Linked DNA regions of Homo sapiens: regions 1, 2, 3, 4, 6 and 7 are each linked to region 5. The links are contacts of gene promoters, found by promoter capture Hi-C in blood cells and fetal thymus (Javierre and others, 2016). All regions are on one chromosome and are shown on one strand. Each heading gives the region's core, a stretch centred on a gene start or on the middle of the fragment in contact. The rest is flanking DNA. Distances are from core to core; before and after follow the strand shown.

Region 1 (3,102 bases), core at 123-2,622, 850 kb before region 5:
GAGGCTGAGGCAGGAGAATCGGTTGAACCTGGGAGGCAGAGGTTGCAGTGAACCAAGATTGTGCCACTGCACTCCAGCCTGGGCAACAGAGCAAGACTCCGTCTCAAAAAGGAAAAAAAACAAAAAACAAAAACCTATAACTAGTGAATAGTGGTGTTGGGAGGATTAAAGGAGATATTTTGTACGAGTCCCACACTGTTAGTAGCAGGGAAAAGGCTTTTCTAAACTTCTAAGACTGAGCAGAAGGAAGGGGAAATTGATGATTCATACAAGGAAAGGAAGGCTAATGACTTTGCCTTCATTTCTAGAACTTTCTACAGCAGCGGTTCCCATGGTGATTTGTGATTCTCTAGGGTTTTGCTACTTATTCCGAGGAGTATAGGGAAATTCCCCCCAAACTGAGCTCTTTTGTGATTCTAGTTCCTAGCACAGTGCTTCACACAAAGTAATCAAGAAATGTTTGCAAATGGAAGCCAAGTACACCTGGATTTCCTTTCTTATAAACATCATATTTTCAAAAGATTAGAGTTGCAGGGATTCACTCTTCCAAATTTCTTGTCTACACAGGAATGTGAGATTCACATGTGTGACTTGGATGACACGAGACTCCCATGGTGTGTGTCTAAGGTCCAAGACCCCACAAATGGCTGAGCAGGGCCCACGCCCGCCAGAGCCAACTCTCAGTCCAGGGCTTGAGGACCACAGCTCTGTGGAGAGGGAGAGGGTAGCCACAAACCCCCAAATGAAACAAACTGCTAGATATCCCTCCAGAAAAATCTGGGACTGCTGTCCTCATCAAGTTAGTAGGCAAACCCATATGCCCTGTGCTGCCACTTGAGTGTGTGGACACTCATCCCCCACCCCTCCACCAAGAAACCTCCCTGGTGGAACTTCACGTCACCTCTGTTCCTCCCAGCCTAGCCAATGCCTTGAATAAAGCAGCACGTGCCTTTGGCCGGGGCCATTGCAGAAGCTGCTATGATGCCTATTTTTTCCACCCTCTTTAAAAATAACCCAACAGATTTTGAACTTCCTGCTTGGCAGAAAAAAATAGAACTCATACTCAGCAATCACATTGCGCTTTAGTTCCCATCACTGATGAGGCAGGCAGATAACGAGTGCCCTGTGAAAGGACACATCTCCAAGTTTAGCCCTGAATCTGAAAAGACAATCTGTCTGCGTGAATAGGCAATTAGAAGACATGCCCTGATGTCATTGGTGCGTTCTTTGGATGTTGCTTTTCAGAGCTAACCTTCAGATGAGTTCTGAATTTTAATGCTACGGAAAACCTCTGGGATGAAGAGCTACAAAGGGAAGAGGCTGATTGGTACAATGGAGGGGCTCTGTGCTGGGCACCACATCTCACCCCTGACCCTGAATCTGTCATCTGCTACCTGGGTGACCTTGGCCAGGCCTCTTCTCCATCTGGACCTGTTTCCTCAACTCCTTCTGACTTGATGTCCTGTGGGCCTAGACTGGAACCTGTCACACTCTCCTTACCACACTCCTATATTAGAACCTTGTGAGAACATCATTTTGTGTAATAGAACATTCCAGATTGCATCCAGGAGGATTTAGCAAAAGGGACCTTTTTCATCATTTCACAATGATGCCTTCAGCAAAACAGGCTCCCAGCAGGAAACCAGATAAAAGCGTTAGAATGAGGCTTCACCTATCTCACCATGAAGATGGCATCTCTCTAGATCATTGCTACATGACTACCATCTCCTTTTTGGTTTGGGGTTTTTTTTTTTCACTTTTTATTTTGAAACAATTACAGATTCGCAGGAAGTTGCAAAGATAGTACAGAGTAACCCAATGGTAACATCTTAGATAAATTTAGTACAATATCCAAACCAGGAAGTTGACATCGCTACAATGTGTGTGTATGGTTCTGTGACATCTTGCCACGTGTGGATTCGTGTAACCACCACCACTGTCACTCTTCCCTCACCGCAAAGATCTCCCTCATGCTACCCCTTTGGAATCACTCTGGCCCTTCCTCCACCAACTTCATCCCAAACCCCTGGCAACCATTAATCTGTTTTCCATCTCTATAGTTTTGTTATTTCAAGAATGTTATGTAAATGAGACCATATAGTAAGCAGCCTTTGGAGATTGGTGTTTTTATTATTATTATTATTATTGACACACGGTTTCATTCTGTCGCGCAGGCTGGAGTGCAGTGGTGTGATTTCAACTCACTGCAACCTCCGCCTCCCAGGCTCAAGAATCCTCCCGACTCAGTCTCCCAAGTAGCTGGAACCACAGACATGAGCCACCATGCCCAGCTAATTTTTATTTATTTATTTATTTATTTTTGTAGAGATAGGGATTTTACCATGTTGCCCAGGCTGGTGTCAAACTCCTGGGCTCAAGCAATCCTCCCACCTCAGTATCCTGAGTAGCGGGACAACAGGCATGCACCACCACTACCAGATCACTTTTTAAAAAAATTTTCTGTAGAGACAGGGTCTCGCTATGTTGCCAGGACTGGTCTCAAACTCCCGAGCTCAAGCAATCTGTCTGCCTCAGCCTCCCAAAATGCTGGGATTACGGGTGTTAGCACCTCAAACGGCGAGACTGGCTTTTTGCACCCAGCAGAATGCCTCAGAGACCCATCCAAGGAGCCTGCACGTATGGAATGCTTGTTCCTTTTCATTGATGAGTAGCATTCCCCGGTATCCTGTCACCTTTTAACCAGAGAGAGACAGGGGCTTTCTCTGTCACCCAGGCTGGATTACAGTGGCGTGGTCACGGCTCACTGCAGCCTCAACCTCCCCAGGCTCAAGCTATCCTCCAACCTCAGCCTCCAGAGTAGCCACAGGTGGAAGCCTCCACGCCTGGCTAATTTTTTTATTTTTTGTAGAGATTAGGTCATACTATGTTGTCCAGGCTGCTCCCAAACTAGGTCTTTCTGTAATTGATGACTTCTAGACATCTCACTGATGGTGTAGGGCAGTGCTTCTCGAATTTGTTAAAATGACTCCATGGGGCTGGGGTGGGGCTTGAAATTCATTGTTTCTAACAAGCATCCCAGCGCTGCTGCTGCTGCTGCTGGTCCAGGGACCTCACTTTGAGTAGCAAAGGTGTGCAGTCTGG
Region 2 (3,143 bases), core at 63-2,562, 760 kb before region 5:
ATGACCACAGGGAGCTCCAGGCCATTCCCATGCATGGGTATCACACCACCATGTCCTACAGCGTCTGCTGCAAGGTTGTTGCTCACAGAATCCACAGACAGAGGTTCATGACTTCTGGAGCCATTTGGGATTTGGGAATGCTCGCCTGCAACACCGTCCATCGTAAGCTCCTCTGCCATTCCATCTGTCGAAATTGGGCTGGTAACCCTAGAAACGTTCTCCATAGTGATTGCTGTGTCCAAGGCCACCTCATGGCCATCACTGGGATGAAGACTTTGGGCACCATGTGTGTTCACAGAGCGAGAGTCTATTGAAACAATGCCTGGTTCTAATCCAACATTTCCATTGGACTGATAGGGATCTAGTGCTGAAGGGTTATTGGTGATAGATAATGCTGTATTACCATCAACATTTATAGAGTTAGGGTGGATGTACTGTGGAGGTGGTCTGTCAGCTAAATAAGATAAAATGCCTGAGAAAAGGAAAAGATGAGATATCAGAGACTTTTAGTACATTATTAAAGAATTCCAAGCACTAGACGCTATTTCCTTACAAACATAACTAAGTTCAAATAATCTCCTGCTTCTTTAATTTAATCGATACACACTATTTTATAAATAGCAACATACATATACCGTAATTGAGTTTTTCCTGTAAAACTCGAAAATCCTAAAAAAGTTAACTATGTTCCTTTGAAGCTAACTGGGAATCACTAACGAAAACACTGCTTTTAATATACATATGGTTGCAATTCCTGAGTCCTAAGGTGTAAAATTTGCTCTCCTAATTATTAAAAGGTAAAATGATTTAAAAACAGATCTTCCATGTGAAAAATAAAACTTAATTAAATATAATTTAATATAATTAAACTATCATAACACAAACTATTTAATACAAGTCACAATTGTACCTGTTTTATTAAAACAAAAAAAAATTAACACTTGTGCTTGGGAGGATATGGTGAAATGATACTTACTAAACTGCCAGAGGGAATGTAAACTGCTAAAACTTCTTTGTGAAGCATATATATTAGGAGCCTCAAAAATGTTAATACCCTCTTGCACAAGAAATTCCACTTAAGGTACTCTTCTCTAAATCCATTTTGTAAATATTATACATAAAGACGTTCATAAGAGCATTAGTTACAATGGTAATAAAAACTGGAAAAACCAAACTGTCCAACAATAAAGATAATAAACCATCAAATACCCATTCAGTAGAAAGTAATGCATCATTAAAAAGGATAATTATGAAAACCACGTAGCAGCAAAGGAAAATACCCATGTAACAGCAGAGAAAAAGATAAAGTGAAAAAAGTAAAGACAGACAATCGTATAGAAAGTATGGTCTTGGGCAGGGCACAGTGGCTCATGCCTGTAATCCCGGCACTTTGGGATGCTGACGTGGGCGGATGGCTTCAGCGCAGGAGTTCGAGACCAGCCTCGGCAACATGCCAAAACCCCATCTCTTTTTTTAAAAAAGTTATTTATAAAAAAGAAATGAAATATGGTATGGTCTCAAGGCAGGCATGTGCCTGTATTCCAAGCTACTCAAGAGTCTGAGGTGAGAGAATCACTGGAGTCCAGGAGTTCCAGTCCAGCCTGGGCAAAATAGTTGAGACTCCGTCTCCATTAAAAGAAAAAAAAAAAAAAGAAAAGAAAAAAGAGAGCAAGAGAAGAAACCGTGGTCTTAATTATGAAAATTGGTAAAAACCTATACACCAAAACAAATGGCAGGAAGGAAGTACACCAAAAAGATGGATGATGGGACTGAGTGGTTCCTTCCCTTATTTGCTAAATTTTCCGCAATAAGCATATAATACTCCTATAACAGAATAAAAATTCAATGAACTTAAAAAACATGACACTATAACAAGACACTATAGTGCTTGACTGAAATTATAGCTGTAGAATTATAAACACCAAATGAAAGAGATACTGGAGGAGAAAGAAGAAAAATTATGTGCAATTAAGAAATTCAGCTTAGTCAAACTGTATTACTAATGTGTTATGTGCCACATTCTAAGAGGAAAAGTACATAAATATAAACAAAGATACTTTTCCTGCCTAGAGATTAATATCTAATAGTGACAAACAGAAAAAAGTGTTATTCATATCTTCAGGATAAAAGTTTAAAAGCTGGCGCCGTTCTTTTTCTCTAACATCTCAAGTAACTGTAACACTTACCAGGTAGAATGGTTCTGAAATAACTGCTCTCCAGGTGAGGGTAAGGTGGTGGAGGTAGGGTGTAGTTTCTTTCAGGTAACCCACACATCACCCCTCGATCCCCAATACCCATTGGTAGCATTAAAGACAGAGCAGAAGGCAGAGAGCTCAGGGAGGGACCCAGGTTTGGAATTGCCACTGGGAGGCCTACAAAACAAAATTTTTTTTCTCAGTTAAAAGAAAATAGGTAATTAAAAATTCTCACTACAACCACTGGCTAAACTCTTAGAAAGGTTTTTACACATGGGCAAAAATCTCACCTACTAGCCCTTTTCATCCTTAGATAATGTGCAAATATCCACAAATAAGCCTAAAGAAAGTAGTCTTAGTCCCAAAGATAGTTTTTAAGTTAGTTCTAAACCGGCAAGTTGATACTCCAATTGTCTGTATTGCGCTTAAATACAAAAATATTTAATTAATTAATTTATCGATTGATTTGAGACGGAGTCTTGCTTTGTTGCCCAGGCTGGAGTGCAGTGGTGTGATCTCAGCTCACTGCAATCTCGGCCTCCTGGGTTCAAGCAATTCTCCTACCTCAGCCTCCTGAGTAGCTGGGATTACAGGCACACACCACCACACCCAGCTAATTTTTGTATTTTTGCTAGAGACAGGGTTTCACCATGTTGGCCAGGCTGGTCTCGAACTCCTGGCCTCAAGTGATCTGCCCACCTCAGCCTCCCAAAGTGCGGGGATTGCCACCATGCCCAGCCAAAATATTTAATTTAGAATTAAAAACCGAGTTTAAATACAAGAAAACAAATTATATAGAGAAAAAAACAATGGAAACATAAAATGTTCATAGGAGTAGTCCCTAGGTAGTGATAGTATGAAATTTTTTTGGTATTTTTAAACTTTATTGTATTTACCATTTTATATGGTGAGAATATTTCATTTCTACCTGGAAAACAACGTAGTTTA
Region 3 (3,031 bases), core at 166-2,665, 600 kb after region 5:
CAATATAAATCATTTCATTTTCTCACCCATATGGTGAAGTAGTTGATGAGGACACTGAAGCTCAGCCATTTGCTCAAAGTCATGGCTAATGGAGGGAGGATTCAAACCCACATCAGCTTGATTTCAAAGCCTAATAGTCCTGCCACTGTCAACACCCTGCCTAGATCATGATTATTTGGAATCACTGGGAAAGAATTTTTTTTTCATGAAGTTAGAAGCCTAAGAATTTTTTTCAATGGAATTTTATAAAAATGTCCTTGAATCACAGATGGCTCTCCCTGGAAACATAGGTTTGTTTGAGAGTCACCTCTTTTATTGTCTTAATAAATAGACTAAGAGCCATCACAAGGGCTACTGTGGCTAGAGAACATATGACTCGGGCCGGGCATTGTGCAGGCATTTGACCTGCATTCCTTCACCCCGGTTCCTGTAACATGTACCTGGTGCTGTGGGGTTACAGCTGATAATGCTGAGGTTTCCAGAGCACATGCTTCCAAGTCCAGTGGAGAAAATCCCAAGAAGTCCAATATTCAATGACTGTTCCTTATTGCAAAATAAGCCCAGAAACAAAGTAGCTGTGAACAGGCTGCACCAGCCCCAGCAGCAATTTCCATTTAAACCATTTTGCACAGATCCCGTGCTCAGCGCTCTCGCCAGTTTCTCCACTTGCTGTTTAGTAAGGCCATCATTGTTGGCAGGAAGTGGGTTCCACCTTCCCTGTTGCCTGAGCACAATGTGCTCCTATGTGGTCTCCACTTTCCTGCTGCCTAGTTGGCTGGGCTTCTCCAGCTGGGCCTTGGAGGCGACCTTTGTCCCACATGCCAGCCCTCCCCACGTTGCAGAACACTATGTAACTGCAGCGTGTGCTGAATTTCCTCTTCTGTGCTCAACCCTAGCAAGAGCCAGTCAACCCTGAATGAGAATGTGGCAATGGAGCTGTTTTTTTCTTTTATCCCCAAGTCACAAGAAATTGGAAACATTCCATTAAGTGGCGTGATTTGAGAGGGTTTCGCCAAATCTTTTCAGGGGAGAGAAGCCAGGTGACCTGATAGCGATCACCTTCCCATTCACGGTTTTCAATGGGGGCTTGTTTCTCAAATGACCAACACCTGTAGGCAGTTAATTTTCAGCATGTCACAGGAGGGCCCAGATGACTTTCTGCCTACTGCTTACGACAACATGGACTTTAGATGCCTCATGGCTTCAACAGCTAAGAATTATGAAATAAAGCGAGTTATGGGATTAAAAGGCAGATAGCAGAACTCTCCCAGGAGTAGCCAGGGCTGCACAAGTGGTTTGACGTGGGATCTTTCTCATCTTTGCCCCGGGTTGTTGCTGCTTTGAAGGTTAAGTGCTCCAGGGATATTTTTAAACAGCAGGGGCTGATTAATCTAAAAGTGACATTTGCAGTCCCCAGAGTAAGCAGCTAGCAGGCTTAGATTCAGGCCCTCAGCAAACAAGGAACCTGGAAAATGTAACCCTGAATGCACGGTGGGGAGGACATGGCAAGAGAAAAGCGGCAGGAATAAAGTGGTAAGTCAGCTCGCCCCTCCCCGGGGTCCGGACCATTCTGCCAACGTCCAGGTAAATTCGAACCCAATGTATAGTGAGAGCAGACCCTGTCTGAAGGCATGCACTTGGGGTCCCCGGGGAAAAACGACTCCCGTCATGTTTGAAGGAAGCTAATCAGAAGAGCTCGAAATGTAACGCAGATGAAAGAGAAGGGCCTTTCTTTGCTTCTATAAATGGTGGTGTGGATCCCTGGACATGCTCCCATATAAGTTCCACAACGTTTTATAAACAATTCTGTTTTTTGCCTCCAAAGCTACTGTCTTAAGGAATAGTATTCTGTTTCTGTTTCCTCAAATGGTTGTTCTTTTTTTTTTTTTTTTTTTTTTTAAAGCAGACTAAGGCTGGGCACGGTGGCTCATGCCACCCAGCACCTTGGGAGGCAGAGGCAGGTGGATCACTTGAGGTCAGGAGTTCGAGACCAGCCTGGCCAACATGGCGAAACCCCATCTGTACTAAACACATAAAAATTAGCCAGATGTGGTGATGGGCACCTGTAATCCCAGCTACTTGGGAGGCTGAGGCAGGAGAATCGCTTGAACCCAGGAGGTGGGGGTTGCAGTGAGCTAAAATTGCGCCACTGCATTCCAGCCTGACTGACAGAGCAAGACTCTGTCTCAAAAAAAAAAAAAAAGAAAAGAAAAAGAAAAAAAGGAGACTAAGAGTAAAGCGTTTGTAGTGGTCCTATATCCTATATTTCTAGGAAGACATGACTTTCTTTCAATGTTGAAAAAATGCATTCCAAAATAATATGCAAGTTAAAAAGTCACTCAGCACCGTGCAAAAGTCTCCTTGCTGTTATTCCTGTCTAACCCTCCTCCTCCAGGTAGCCACTGTGCACATTTTGGTATAAACCCCCCAGACCTTTTATTCTGTACACTCACACTGTACACAACTCTCTCCCTCATGTCTATTGTGATTACTTTTATTTTTTAATATCAATGGGCATCCATATAGGTTGGGTGACCAACCATCCCACTTTGCCCAGGACCGGGGAATTCCCGGGACATGGGACTTGCAATTTAAAAACTGAAAGGTGAAGATATTATTATTATCATTATTATTTGAGATGGAGTGCTCACTGCAAGCTCCGCCTCCTGGGTTCACGCCATTCTCCTGCCTCAGCCTCCCAAGTAGCTGGGACTACAGGCACCCACTACCACGCCCGGCTAATTTTTTTTGTATTTTTAGTAGAGACAGGGTTTCACTGTGTTAGCCAGGATGGTCTCGATCTCCTGACCTCAAGTGATCCGCCCGCCTCGGCCTCCCAGAGTGCTGGGATTACAGGCATGAGCCACCGCGCCTGGCCAAAGATATCATTTTATAAATTGCATGTTTCTGCTAATAGTGACATGGAGTTCTTTACAAGATTTCTTTTTATGACTTCTCCAAGTTTTAAGTGGAAAGACCCAGCCAATCCTAATTCATGTGATTTAGAGATGAAAATATCTCTAATCTGTAA
Region 4 (3,014 bases), core at 142-2,641, 780 kb before region 5:
CCTGTATTTTAAAAAAGTTTAATTTTAATCCTTCCTAGAGGAATACAGATTTGAATGAAATACATTCATTCCATAAATACATTAGCAGCAAAACCTTCCCACCAGAGTCCTCTACTCCAGCCCAGAGGTTGTGCCTTGAGCAGGAGAGCATGTTCCATCAATCCTGTCAACTTAAGGGTGGGTCTGCTTCTGAGAAACGCTGGATGTGCATGGGAGACACAATGACCAGGTGCATGGGTGACTTAACTAAGCTGGGACCCTGAAAACAGGCCCATGTGGTCACTATTCAGCCTTCTTTACCTTCCAAAAATCCTTTGGCATCTTCCATGCTTCTCTGATGAGGTTCCTCAGCACTGAGACAACTGGGAAGACCTAACTTTGCACATGCATTAAATAATGTTATTTTGAGTTGGCAATGTTTTAACACTTTTCATAAGGTAAATGAAACATAAAAGATTATTCCCTTCCTTCCCTTCCTCAGGTGAGTCCACATGTACTCATCAGGAGACAATCCAGCAGGCATTATTTGGGCTCTCTGTATCTCCAGGCCCCCTTTGTCTGAATGGCTGGATGTTTACTGGAGACAGGGAGCCATGTCTAAACCTACAAAGATCTCCACGTTACAATAACCAGGTGACTTGCTCAGGCTTCCATCAAAGCTAATTTCTTGGGCAGAGGCCAGGCATCTCTCCTCTTGTTCTCTCCATCACTGACTACTGACTGACTGCTGCTTTTTTATTTGCCCTCCAGGCACCTGCCGAAACTTTGGAAAACAAGATCTACCCTAAACTTCCAAGTGGCCAGGAGCAGTTAAGGCAGGTCCTGCTTTAAACTTACTAGCTGCCAAGTAGCACACTTATGCTGCTGTGTCCCAATCCATTCTGTGGTGAGTATAAGTCACAAGAGTCTGCATAAAACACTATCAGCAATCAGGATGGCTATGGGGCAAGGACCGTTTAGAATGTTACCAAGTCACAGGACCAGCAGGAAAATGGAATAATGGAAGAATGTGAAATAAATCTGATTTGTTTGAGCAGAAGGCAGCTTTGATTCAGGCATAAATGCATCTCCCAGATTATCATGTAAATAAAGACCTCAGAAGTTGACACTTCCCTCCCAGTCCACCACTTAAAACAGGACACATGCTCAGTTTTCCCAATCTGTTTTAAAGTGTTTTCATTAGGATACTCTTCTGTAAGTGCTTTATTCATTCCCAGTCTGTTTTGATTACTGGCTGAAAATAAATCAGGAACCATTTTATATAAAAACCATTATAGTAGATAACTGGTTATGTGTATTTTTCCATTTGCATTTTCATCCAAAATTGCTTGTTTCTTTTCCTTTTATTTATGTGCAGAAAGAGACTCATCCGCTGAATACACAGCACTGTTAATCCTACAGTCTTCTGTCCCCACAGAGTCTGCTAGATCTTCCTCTTCTGAGTCATCCTCTTCTTCCTCCTCTGGTGCTGACGAACTGGAGGTGGGCCCTTTGCAGGTTTTCAGGTGGCGGGTGAGATGGTATTTGGTTAGATAAGCCTTTGTACATTTTTCACAGACATAATCCCGTTTTCCTTCATGAGAATTGAGATGCTTCTTTAAGTGATTTGTTCTCAAGAACAGCTTATCACACTTGGGACACTTGATCTGGCGTTCTCTAAGAGGAACACAAGAAAAAACATTTGATTTGGGGTTACAAATAACAACTGAGGCAACACTTATTCTTCATAGCCGCAGGCCTTTGTCAGAGCAGCTCTATCCTTCTGAATCAGGCTTTTGCATAGGTGATATACAGAAGACTCATAAAACATGTATAGTTTAAAACAGTGTAGGCTCATTTTTCCTGTTTTAGAATACTATGTAAATTCTCAAATTCTATGTAAATTCTATATGTATTTCTTTTGTCTTGCTGCATTCTCTCAGTATGATGCTCATAAAATTCATTCAAGCTGCTGTATCAGTTGTTTGTTCCCTTCCACTGCTGTATACTATTTACAAATATACAAATACACCACAACTTATCTATGGTACTGGATTTGTCTCTAGCTAATGAATGTTTTGGTGGTTTCCAGTTTTTTATTATCACAAGCAAAAGTGCTAGAACGTTTTTAAATTTTTTTAAATTTTTATTATTATTTTTTAGAGACAGGGTCCCACCATGTTGCCCAGACTGGAGTGCAATGGCTATTCACAGGTGTGATCATCATGCACTACAGCCTTGAACTCCTGGGCTCAAGTGATCTGTCCGCCTCAGCCTCCCAAGTACCTGGGACTACAGGTGCATGCCACTGTACCTGGCATTTGAACATTTTTATACTTGTATGGTGCTCTGCAATACATGTTTCTCTAGGGCACATACCCAAGAACTATATAGCTAAATCAAAGGATATGCACATCTTCAACTTTACAAGATAATGACAAACGGTTTTCCAATGTAGTTGTTTCAATATACACATCCATCATTGACGGTTCTGGTTGTCCCATATTCTCAACTGGAAGACTCAAATTTGAAAATGTCTGCCAATTAGCCAGTACATAATGGTATCTCATTACACCGTTATTTGTATTCCCTGGATGCCACTTTTATGGAATTACCATTTTTCTGTCCTTTTCTTAGACTAGTGGTTCTCAAGTAGGGGCGACTGCCTCTATGGGGACATTTGGCAATGTCTGGAGTCCTTTCTGATTGTTATACTGGGGAGGGGTGGTATAATTAGTATCTAGTAGGAAAAGGCCAAGGATGCTGCTAACCATTCTACAATGCACAGGGCAGCCCCACAACAAAAAATTAACCCGGTCAAAATGTCAATAATGTCAAGGTTTGAGTAACCCTGGCCTAGACATTTCAGAGCTGAAAAGAACCTTAGAGATCACACAGACCAGGAATTTTTTAGCTTTTTTTTTTTTTTTGAGTAGCTGAACCCCATGTCTTTATGAAAGCCCAATATGAAACAGTTAAAGCAGGTTATTAATAAAATCCTGGAAGGAGTGAGAGGGTGCAGTCGGGCGTTCTGA
Region 5 (3,377 bases), core at 327-2,826:
AATACACGTCACAGAGGAGGTCAGATCTTGAAGCATCAAGCCTTCTGCAAATCCTGAACTGGATGCCAAAAGCAAGGTAGGCTGTTTGTCCCCATTTTACAAGTGGGGAAAGTGAGGCTAGGAGTAACGTGCCCAAGGTGACACGGAGAGTAAATGGCAAAGTCTGAATTTGAGCTCAGGTCTCTTTGACTCCCCAGAATCTGAACTGCTAACTTCTAAATGCTTAGCGTTTCTGGGGCACCTCCCTAGATGTTTAATTTCAGTATTTGTGGATTAAGATGGAGGTTTCCATTCTCTGCTTCAAGGAAAAAATTTCTCTCTGGGAAGCCAAAAGAACTAGCCAGGTCCTTCTGGAGAGGATACAAATTAAAAAGTCAGGGAGAACCGAGGGGGTGGCTTGCGCCTGTAATCTTAGCGCTTTGGGAAGCCGAGATGGAGGGAGAGCTTAAGGTCAAGAGTTCGAGACCAGCCCGGGCGACATAGTGAGACCCGGTCTCTAAAGAAAATAAAAAATCAGAAATAGGTCGGGCGCGATGGCTCACGCCTGTAATCCCAGCACTTTGGGAGGCCGAGGCAGGCGAATCTTCTGAGGTCAGGAGTTCGAGACCAGCCTGGCCAACGTGGTGAAACCCCATCTCTACTAAAAATACACAAATTAGGCGGGCGTGGTGATGCGCGCCTGTAATCCCAGCTACTCGGGAGGCTGAGGCAGGAGAATCGCTTCAACCTGGGAGGCGGAGGTTGCAGTGGGCCAAGATCGTGCCACTTCCCTCCAGCCTGGGCAACAGAGTGCGATTCCGTCTCAAAAAAAAAGAAAGAAAGCAAGACAGAGAGAGAGAAAAAAAAAGAAAGAAAGAAAGAAAAGAAAAGAAAAGAAAATTCGCCGGGCATGGTGGCATGCACCTGTAGTCCCAGCTACTCGGGAGGCTGAGATGGGAGGATTGCTTGAGCCCAGGAGGTGGAGGCTGCAGTGAGCTGCAATTGCTCCACCGCACTCCAGCCTGGGCGACACAACGAGACCCTGTATTTTATAAGAAAAAAAAAAGTTGTTTAAGTCAGGGAGGAAAAGACACAGAGAGGAAAAGAGTAAAGAAGAAGAAGGCGGCAAACTCAGCAGCATGGGGTGGAGGCTAAGAACAGGGGCTGCGCAGTCAAGCAGGCTAACCGGGTGAAGGGGTGAAAAGCATCAGCATCTTCATTTCACAACCGGGAAAAATGAGGCACACGACAGCGGCTCCGGGACGAAGAGACCCGAGGAAAAGACCGCCGTGGAACTTCCAGTTTCCGGGCCCGCCACCTAGTGTGCCCCAAATCCGCACGCCCATCGGGTTTCCAGCACCTGCTCCTCCTGCCTGTGGCCTAGGCCCCGCCCCTCCCGCTGCTTATTGGCTGCTACGTGAACGAGACAAACGCAAGCAACAACCAATGGGAGTGGCCCACGGCGCGTCTTTCCCGGGGAAGCCGACGCGGACGCGGGAACCCGGAAATGCGAGGGAAGGACAAGTGGGGAAAGCCAATCCGCCGCGACGAGGGCTGCGGGCGGTTCAATGGCAAGTCGCCGGGGGCGGGGCCAGAGGCCGGCGGAGAAGGAGGACCCGGGAGCCGGCGGCCCGGAGCTGGGAGCGCGGGGAAGGCGGTTGGGGTTCTGACAGCTGCGCGCGGTGAGAAGGGGAAAAGCCCTAGGGGCTCGAGAGGATGAAGCCGGGAAGGGTGCGACGGGGCCGCGAGCCCTGGGCGGGGTTCGGGAAGGGAGGCTCTGCAGTCTTGGAGGGGACTCAGACCGGTCCCCTCCCCTCTCCGGGCCTCAGTTCTCCCTTTCTAGGGAAGTGTGGGGGAGAGATTCGCGCCTCCCAGAACGCACTCCTTCCCTGCACACACCCCTGGCACCGGCGAACTGCCCCCTTTCCTGTACCGCCCCGCCCAGGAGCCTGTCCCCTCGGGAAGCCCGCCCAGACCCCTGGACCCGCGCAGCACTCCAGGCGCACCCCTATTAAAGCGCACCCCAAGCCATTTCACATGTTCTGTGGCAATGGGCCAGGATCCCCATGAGACTCAGAACCCCGTGATCCATCAGTCATTCCCGGGTCAGGACCAGCCCAGAGCAGGTGCACAGGCCCTGCTTAGTAATAAGGTAGAAATCGAGACCTGGGGACCGGGTTCAGAGGCCCTGGGGTTTCCTTCCGGATGCCTCTGTTTACCTCCTGTGGGCCTTCTGGAATTTAACTTATGCTCTCTGTGTCTTGGTTTCCCTTGTCTGTAAAATGGAGCTAGCGGTAGCTCTTCCTTCATAGGGTGGCATGAGGGTGAAACGAGGCAATGCGTGGCCAGTACACTGCTCAGCACCTAGGACACCATAGTTGCTTAATAAGTGCTTATTGTTAGCATAGTGTTTGCATGCCTGGCCCCACCTCCACTCCCACTGCCAGCCCCAAGCACATACAAGCCATGTTGTCACTGAGGCCAAGCACTGTGGCCCACAGCCTGAGTTCCTTTCGAGATGCTCGAACTGCTCATCTTCTTGATGGGGTCCCTTCTGGACAGGCCAGAAATGGAAGGCCAGAGAGGGGAAGGGCACTGTGGGAGCTGTGGCTGAATATCAGGGTGAGGGCAATAAATGAGGCCACCCAACAATTGTGCTTATCAAAGATTGGGCGTCAGAACTGCTGTGGCTGATCTGCCTGGGTGTCTGTCAGTCATTTATGTCCCAAATGTTTGACATATGTCCACAAATCCAGTGTTTGTGGTCAGAAGCCACAGGGATATATGGGAAGGGGGGACACTTTAGAGCCGTGGGGTTCCTGAGTTCAAGTCCTAAGGCTGTCACTTGCTCCCGGCGAGACTTTCGGCAAGGGACTTCACCTCTCTGAACCTCAGTTCCCTCACCTGGAGAAGGGTGAAAACATCAGCTCAAGTCGTTGAAGATTGCAGGAGGTGACCCATGTGAGGCATTTGGTGCTTAGCACACGGCCTGGATTATGGCAAGTGCTCATTAATTGTTGGACCACAGCAGTGTTTTCACATTCATACTGCCCAGGAGGTGGCACCAGTCCTTCTAGGCTGGCCCCTCCTCTAGTGAGATCCAGTCCTTGACTTGCCCCCACCCCATCTCTCTAGTGAGCTAAAAGAGCAGAAGTCTCCAAACCCATCTTCCCAGCTGAAGTCACACTATGTCCTGAACGTGTCTGTTTCTCCTGCGACTCTTGGCTCCTTGCAGATCCTGCTCTCTCTCAGCCGCCTGTGGACATGCGCAAAGGGCCCTCTCCTGAGTCCAGATGATGCTCATACCAATGGCTTCAGTGATGGCGGTGACTGAACCGAAATGGGTCTCGGTCTGGAGCCGCTTCCTCTGGGTGACGCTGCTGAGCATGGTGCTGGGG
Region 6 (3,338 bases), core at 162-2,661, 620 kb before region 5:
ACCTAGGAGCTTGCAAAGAATCTGTTCACCAGCGAGGAGAGATCAAACTGTCTACAGAACTTGAATTCTGGACACTGAGTTTGAGAAAGGGAAGGTGCTTCTCAGCCAGCACTGTGCTTCTGAATGCACTGTGGGTGAATCCCTGGTTACATAAAGCAGGGATTTTGCTGGATACTGGCATTACAAACATTACTTGTTGTTACCTTAGTGATGGATCCCATATCTTTTGTTTTTTGTTTTTTGTTTTTTTTTGAGACGGAGTCTCACTCTGTTGCCAGGCTGGAGTGCAGTGGTATGATCTTGGCTCACTGCAACCTCCGCCTCCTGGGTTCAAGCGATTCTCCTGCCTCAGCCTCCTGAGTAGCTGGGACTACAGGTGTGCACCACCACACCTGGCTACTTTTTGTATTTTTAGTAGAGATGGGGTTTCACCATGTTGGCCAGGAGGGTCTTGATGTCTTGACCTCGTGATCCGCCCTCCTCAGCCTCCCAAAGTACTGGGATTACAGGTGTGAGCCACCATGTCCAGCCTAATTTTTCTTATAAATTCTTTTTTGGCCCATTAGTCACTTTAGAATGTGTTAATTTCCACATATTTGTGAATTTTCCATTTTTCCTTCTGCTGTTGATTTCTAGTTTTATTCCATTGGATGTACAATACAGGGCCCATTTTTGCCTAATTTATATAACACCCTGTTTATATCTAGTCTCACATATTTTCTCTGTATCCACAGAAAAGTCAAGAATTTGTTATTCTTGCCTCTGGTTTGGCCTTCCCTAGAGCATTCAAAGCTTCTTTTTCTCTGTCTGGAAAGGAAAAGCTGGACAGGCCCATGGCTTAATTCTCATTCATCCATAAAGTTATTTAGACCAAGAGTTTTCCCAGTGAGCTCTGTTTTGGCCCCGCGAGTGAACCATATGTTGACAGTTGCACATGGAACAGAGGCAACAGGAAAAAAAGCCCCGTTGTGGGCTCAGTAATTATTGGCTATAAACAAATAACATGGTTTTACAGAAGAAATAAGACCTAGTATTAGATAGATCAATAGAGTGACTATAGTTTGCGATAGTCTATTATACATTTAAAAATAGCTGGAAGAGAGAATTCAAATGGTTCTAGTATAAAGAAAAGACAAATATTTAAGGTGATGGATATCCCAAGTATACTGATCGATGTTTACAAATTATATGAATGTGTGAAATTATCACATGTACTCTGAAACTATGTACATTATGCATCAATAAAAACAAAATAAAATGAAACTCTGTATGTCATTCATTAATTGAGTTCACCTTTACTAGGAGATTCTGCATATTAAAAGAACACAGAGAATATTGATTCAAGTCAGGTCCACAGGACACTGAGGGCTGTCTGCTGCTCTCCACTGAGGCTGTTGTTTTCAGCAGAGAGTGTCTATAAATGTCCTATAGGAGCAAATTAGCCCAGGCATTCACTTGACTAGTGAAACAGATGCGGTGGAAAGGGGAGGTCTCTAGGCCTCCAGGATGTAAAGGCAGAGTCCCATGCACCTGGACCCTGAGAAAAGCAGAAGGTCTGATGACACAGGGGTGGCAGAGGTGACTTTGCCTCCCCACCCCAACCCTCAGTAGGTTCCAGTCAGGAGATCTGCACATTATAAATGGACAGTGACCTGGAGCTCTTTTCTTTTTCCCCTAAAACTAATTATTCTATGTAACAACAAAACCAAACTTTGCTTATGTCTTTTAATTAACAAAAAAATTACTATACTGTAATGATAAAACCATAAATTTTATAGTTTTAGTATATGCCAGTGGAAAAAGATTATAGAAGACACAGGGCTATAGACTGAATGTTTGTGTCCCCCCAAAATTTATACGTTGAAAGCCTCCCTCCCGTGTGATGGTTTTAGGAGGAGGGGCCTTTGGTAGGTGATTGGATCATAAGGGTCATCTTATGAATGGGATTAGTGCCCTTATAAAAAAGACCCCAGAGAGCTCTCTCACCCCTTCCCCTATGTGAGGACACAAAGAGAAGGCACCATACCTAACAAGCTTCTCGGTTCATAGATGTCCTCACTGGACACTAAATCTGTCAGTGCCTTGATCTTGGACTTCCCAGCCTCCGGAACTATGAGAAATACGTTTTTGTTGTTTATAAGCCACTAACTATATGGTCTCTTGTTAAAGCAGCGTGAATGAGCTAAGACAATCAGTTTGTTCTTTGTGTTGCCTCCAGACTCTCAGAATCTGTGTGCTTCCCCAAAGCATCTGGACTTTCCATGTGCTTTTTACACATCTCCAAGCATGGCTAAAATTTAAAAGTCAGAAAATACCAATTGATGGAGAGGCTGGGGAACAACCAATCTCTTGTCCATGGCTGGCGTGAGCATCAGATGGGCATTTCATTTGGAAAACTCTTGGTCAGAATCCACTAAAGGTGGACAAAAGCATCCCTGTGCCCTTGCGAATCCTTTGATGAAGGGACAGCCAAAAGAAATGCATGCATAGATTAATGACAAATGACCAACAGGAGGCAGCATCTGCTATGGCTACGCACACAGGCTCTGGGGTCAGACAACTTCATGTTGATTCAGGCTCTGACACTTGCTGTATGGATGACTTTGCACCAATCACAGCCCTAATTTCCTCATCTACTAAATAGGGAGAATAATTGTATCTCTTTCAGAGGGTCAATGAAAGGATGACACAATAGTGTTGCTGTAACAGCACAGTACTTGGGCCATAAAAAAGCATTCCGTTCTGAGTAGATATTGTAATTATTTCCATAACCTATCTTATGATTATTATTAGCCTCTACAAAAGTACACTAAAAGGAACAAAAAGGAGGAAATAACTAGCCAATCTTGGGAAATAAGGCAATACTTGAGGGAGGAGGTGATATTCGAATGTGATTTTCTTTTTTTTTTTTTCTTTTTTTTCTTTTTGAGACGGAGTCTTGCTCTGTCACCCAGGCTGGAGTACAGTGGCGTGATCTCGGCTCACCGCAAGCTCCACCTCCTGGGTTCACGCCATTCTTCTGCCTCAGCCTCCTGAGTAGCTAGGAGTACAGGCACCTGCCACCACGCCCAGCTAATTTTTTGTATTTTTATTAGAGACAGGGTTTCAGCATGTTAACCAGGATGGTCTCGATCTCCTGACCTCGTGATCCGCCCGCCTTGGCCTCCCAAAGTGCTGGGATTACAGGTGTGAGCCACCACGCCCGGCCATGATTTTCAAATAAATCATACAACTAATATAAACTATTTGCAGAAAATCACAGAGAATCAACATGAAGATCAAGTACCAGTTTGGATCATCCAGAAGACATAAGCTACAAGGTGTTTTAAATAGGGCAT
Region 7 (3,025 bases), core at 61-2,560, 970 kb after region 5:
TGACACATAATGGGCACTCATTTACTTTTTTAAATGATCTTGGTTATCACCAACCTCTTATTTTCTAATCTTTCTACCTATATGATTCTTGTTTCCCTAACTAGATTGCAAGCTTCTTAAGGACAATACAATAAAGCTCACTTACATGCTACATGCTTTTAGATATCCTATATTAATATTTTCCCATTTAATCCTAATCACAATGTTGTGATGACTAAATTGAGGTACAAGAAGGATAAATGTTGCATTTAATCCTTTCAGCAACCCTAGGACATAGACACTATTATTACCCTCGATTTACACATAAGGAAACTGAGGCCTAGAGAGGATAAGTAACTTGGCCAAATGTCGGATAGAAGGAGTACTAAAAAGAACCAAGGCCCGCTTTCTCTGATGCAAGACTTTTTCTGCTGCGCACAGCCTTTTCTTTGGTTCTCCATGGCATTTAGCAAAATAAGTACTTAATAAACACTTGATTGTGTGTTTTATTAATTGACGAACTATAGTATACACTGTGCAGGTGGAGAAGGTATATAGGAAAGGATGAGAAAAACTGTAAAGTGTAGGCTATTATATGATATGAACAGAAATCAACCAATAACATTGCTGAAGGGATAATAATCTCAAGGAAGGGGATAAGAGTAATTTCTTATTCTGGGAGGGCCCCTGGGAGAAGTGAAAGTTTTAAGATCGTCTTACAGTGCTTAGGTACAGTTTGCATGCAACTTTGTTTTTCTTTTGGGAAGAGGCTCCCTCTTCCCCTTCTAATTCCATGGACCCTCTGCCATTGAGGCACTGTCTGCATGTCATGGAGGGAGCATATCATTGTGCTTGTGGCTTGGGCCCTGCTCTTTTGCAGTCCTGAGGAGCTTGAATCTGTTACTCACTCTAAACAACAGGGCCAGGAGTTCATAGCCCAAGGGACAGGACTGGTGAATCTTAGTGCATTTAAGATAGGAAAAAAGTTAATGGGTGAGAAATGTCAGACTGCCAGCATTATTTCCTACCCAGAGAACCTTAGTAACTGTCCAGGTGGGAGCCTCTGCTGAAGAGTTTTTTTTTTTTTTTAATCCTTGTGTCTATAAAAATAATACACCAGTTAGACTTCCTGACTATACACTCTACAATGTGCACTCAAGTACCTCCATAGGTACCTGATAAGCATCATCACATTTAGTCCTCATTATCAACCTCTAAGCCAATTAATAGATGAAGATGGAAAGACTCAGGGCCCAGTGTGGTGGCTCATACCTGTAATCCTAACATTTTGGGAGGCCAAGGCAGGAGGATCTCTTGAGCCCAGGAGTTTGAGACCACCAACCTGGGCAATATAGCGAGACCCCACCTCTACAAAAAATTTAAAAACTAGCCAGATGTGGTGGTATGTACCTGTGGTCCCAGCTACTTGAGAAGCTGAGGTGGGAGAATCGCTTGAGCCTGGGAGGTAGAAGCTGCAATGAACCATGATTGCACCACTGCACTCCAGCTTGGATGACAGAGCGAGACCCTGCCTTAAAAAAAAAAAAAAGACTTAGACATTCTCCCTATAGTATGTGGCAGAGCTAGGGACTGGCTCCAACTCTGTGTGACTCCCAAAGCCCGTGTGCCCCTCACTGTGCAGTGCTGCTTCACCATGTGCATGCTGTGGAAAATTTAGAAAATACAGACCAATTAAGAAAAATTTCCCGCAATTTCAGTACCTCAAAACAGCCACTGGTAACATGTTGGTATAGTTCATGCTAGTTTTGTATCTGTGTGTGTGTACATTTTTCTTTAGGTAATTGGGGTCTTATTGGTCCACAGGCAGCCCTTTATTCACTTCTAAGGCATAAACGTTTTTCCATTATCATTAAAAATGTCAAACACGCTGAGGCAGGAGAATGGCATGAACCCGGGAGGCGGAGCTTGCAGTGAGCCAATATCGCGCCACTGCACTCCAGCCTGGGCGACAGAGCAAGACTCCGTCTCAAAAAAAAAAAAAAAAATGTCAAACATGGCCGGGCACAGTGGCTCACACCTGTAACCCCAACTGAGATAGGGTATGGTGGCACACACCTGTAATCCCAGCTACTTGGGAGGCTGAAGCAGGAGAATCGCTTGAACCTGGGAGCAGAAGTTATAGTGAGCTGAAATTATGCCGCTGCACTCCAACCTCAGCGACAGAGTGAGACTATCTCAAAAAAAAAAAAAAGGAAAATGTCAAATATAATTTTCAGTAGCTCTTTAACATTCCATGACCTCTAAGTTATTTTGCTTCCCATCACAGCTGTAATTCAACAACAACTTTGGGATTTATTTTCAACATATTCCCTTTAAACTGTGAGGATTGAAGAGATACAGTATAACATTTAGATGAGACATTAAATAAAGAGGACCCAGTGGTGTTTTTAAAAAACCATTGGCATTGTAGTTACTACTTTTACTCAGTGAGGAAGATGTATGATACCACACCTATAAAATTTAACCCTAAGTCTGGATTTTTTTCTTCTGCTTCTGCCAGAAAAAATAACAAGCTTTTCTGAAGTGAGAAGCTGTTCTCAGCCACGAGTCCTGTGCAAGATCACTAATGATTACCTGGCATTTCTGCGACACAGGCAGGTCCTCAGGTGAGATCTCCAGACTTTACTGCTGGGGCAGGAAGCGTAAATGATTCAGAAGATGGCTACCGTTTCTCTCCAAGCCTTTTATAAGTTGGTGCAAAAGTAATTACGACTTAGTGTTTTTTTAAAAAAGTTGAAACCCACAATTACTTTTGTACCAACCTAATACCTTCCCTCCTGTGGTCAAGTGGGCTCTGTTAGTTTGTTTCAAGGATTACTGATGATGTTTGACAGATCACTGTTGAGAAGGGGTCACAGAGGTCCCTTGATATGTTCATGTGGTGGGAGGCTTGCACCAACTTTTTTTTGGTTATAAAAGGGTATTATTTTATTGTCCTTATTAATACTAATAATAGAGCACACTTATTAAATGCCTTTCAATAACACGTAATTAATTTAATACCTCTAGGAGATAATACTATTAA

Evidence for each region. The method cuts DNA at HindIII sites, captures the fragments that hold promoters and counts their contacts. A CHiCAGO score of 5 or more calls a contact.
Region 1: a fragment that was not itself captured here is called in contact with the fragment with the promoter of FICD in region 5 in 1 of 17 cell types (total B cells); the score reaches 6.1 in total B cells.
Region 2: a contact is called between a fragment that was not itself captured here and the fragment with the promoter of FICD in region 5, in 8 of 17 cell types (total CD4 T cells, naive CD4 T cells, naive CD8 T cells and 5 more). The highest score is 10.8, in total CD4 T cells.
Region 3: a contact is called between the fragment with the promoter of ACACB here and the fragment with the promoter of FICD in region 5, in 13 of 17 cell types (neutrophils, erythroblasts, total CD4 T cells and 10 more). The highest score is 14.5, in neutrophils.
Region 4: a contact is called between a fragment that was not itself captured here and the fragment with the promoter of FICD in region 5, in 1 of 17 cell types (naive B cells). The highest score is 5.4, in naive B cells.
Region 6: a contact is called between a fragment that was not itself captured here and the fragment with the promoter of FICD in region 5, in 4 of 17 cell types (naive B cells, M1 macrophages, M2 macrophages and 1 more). The highest score is 7.3, in naive B cells.
Region 7: a contact is called between a fragment that was not itself captured here and the fragment with the promoter of FICD in region 5, in 1 of 17 cell types (neutrophils). The highest score is 5.1, in neutrophils.

What each region holds. Positions count from the first base shown.
Region 1 is chr12:107,661,703-107,664,804 of GRCh38, forward strand. No RefSeq gene overlaps it. Among named protein-coding and RNA genes, the nearest start is that of PWP1, 23 kb to the right of the region's middle. The HindIII fragment of the contact is 9,605 bases long and covers 1-3,102 here.
Region 2 is chr12:107,751,738-107,754,880 of GRCh38, forward strand. It overlaps PRDM4 (PR/SET domain 4), which reads right to left. Exons shown (of 12, transcript NM_012406.4): 4 at 2,187-2,372; 5 at 1-472. The region is part of intron 3 of PRDM4-AS1 (PRDM4 antisense RNA 1); the gene reads left to right. Among named protein-coding and RNA genes, the nearest start is that of PRDM4, 7.8 kb to the right of the region's middle. The HindIII fragment of the contact is 3,807 bases long and covers 1-3,143 here.
Region 3 is chr12:109,115,172-109,118,202 of GRCh38, forward strand. It overlaps ACACB (acetyl-CoA carboxylase beta), which reads left to right and starts at 1,416. Exons shown (of 53, transcript NM_001093.4): 1 at 1,416-1,533. The HindIII fragment of the contact is 11,769 bases long and covers 1-3,031 here.
Region 4 is chr12:107,732,867-107,735,880 of GRCh38, forward strand. It overlaps PRDM4 (PR/SET domain 4), which reads right to left. Exons shown (of 12, transcript NM_012406.4): 12 at 5-1,656. The coding sequence ends at 1,344. Among named protein-coding and RNA genes, the nearest start is that of PRDM4-AS1, 2.2 kb to the right of the region's middle. The HindIII fragment of the contact is 3,900 bases long and covers 1-3,014 here.
Region 5 is chr12:108,513,701-108,517,077 of GRCh38, forward strand. FICD (FIC domain protein adenylyltransferase) reads left to right here and starts at 1,577. Exons shown (of 3, transcript NM_007076.3): 1 at 1,577-1,661; 2 at 3,215-3,377. The coding sequence starts at 3,273. RefSeq lists enhancers at 1,049-1,108, 3,011-3,377, 3,200-3,299. The HindIII fragment of the contact is 9,938 bases long and covers 1-3,377 here.
Region 6 is chr12:107,889,651-107,892,988 of GRCh38, forward strand. It overlaps the pseudogene LOC644746. Among named protein-coding and RNA genes, the nearest start is that of ASCL4, 120 kb to the left of the region's middle. The HindIII fragment of the contact is 1,242 bases long and covers 791-2,032 here.
Region 7 is chr12:109,479,137-109,482,161 of GRCh38, forward strand. UBE3B (ubiquitin protein ligase E3B) reads left to right here. Exons shown (of 28, transcript NM_130466.4): 2 at 2,501-2,606. Among named protein-coding and RNA genes, the nearest start is that of UBE3B, 3.0 kb to the left of the region's middle. The HindIII fragment of the contact is 2,401 bases long and covers 111-2,511 here.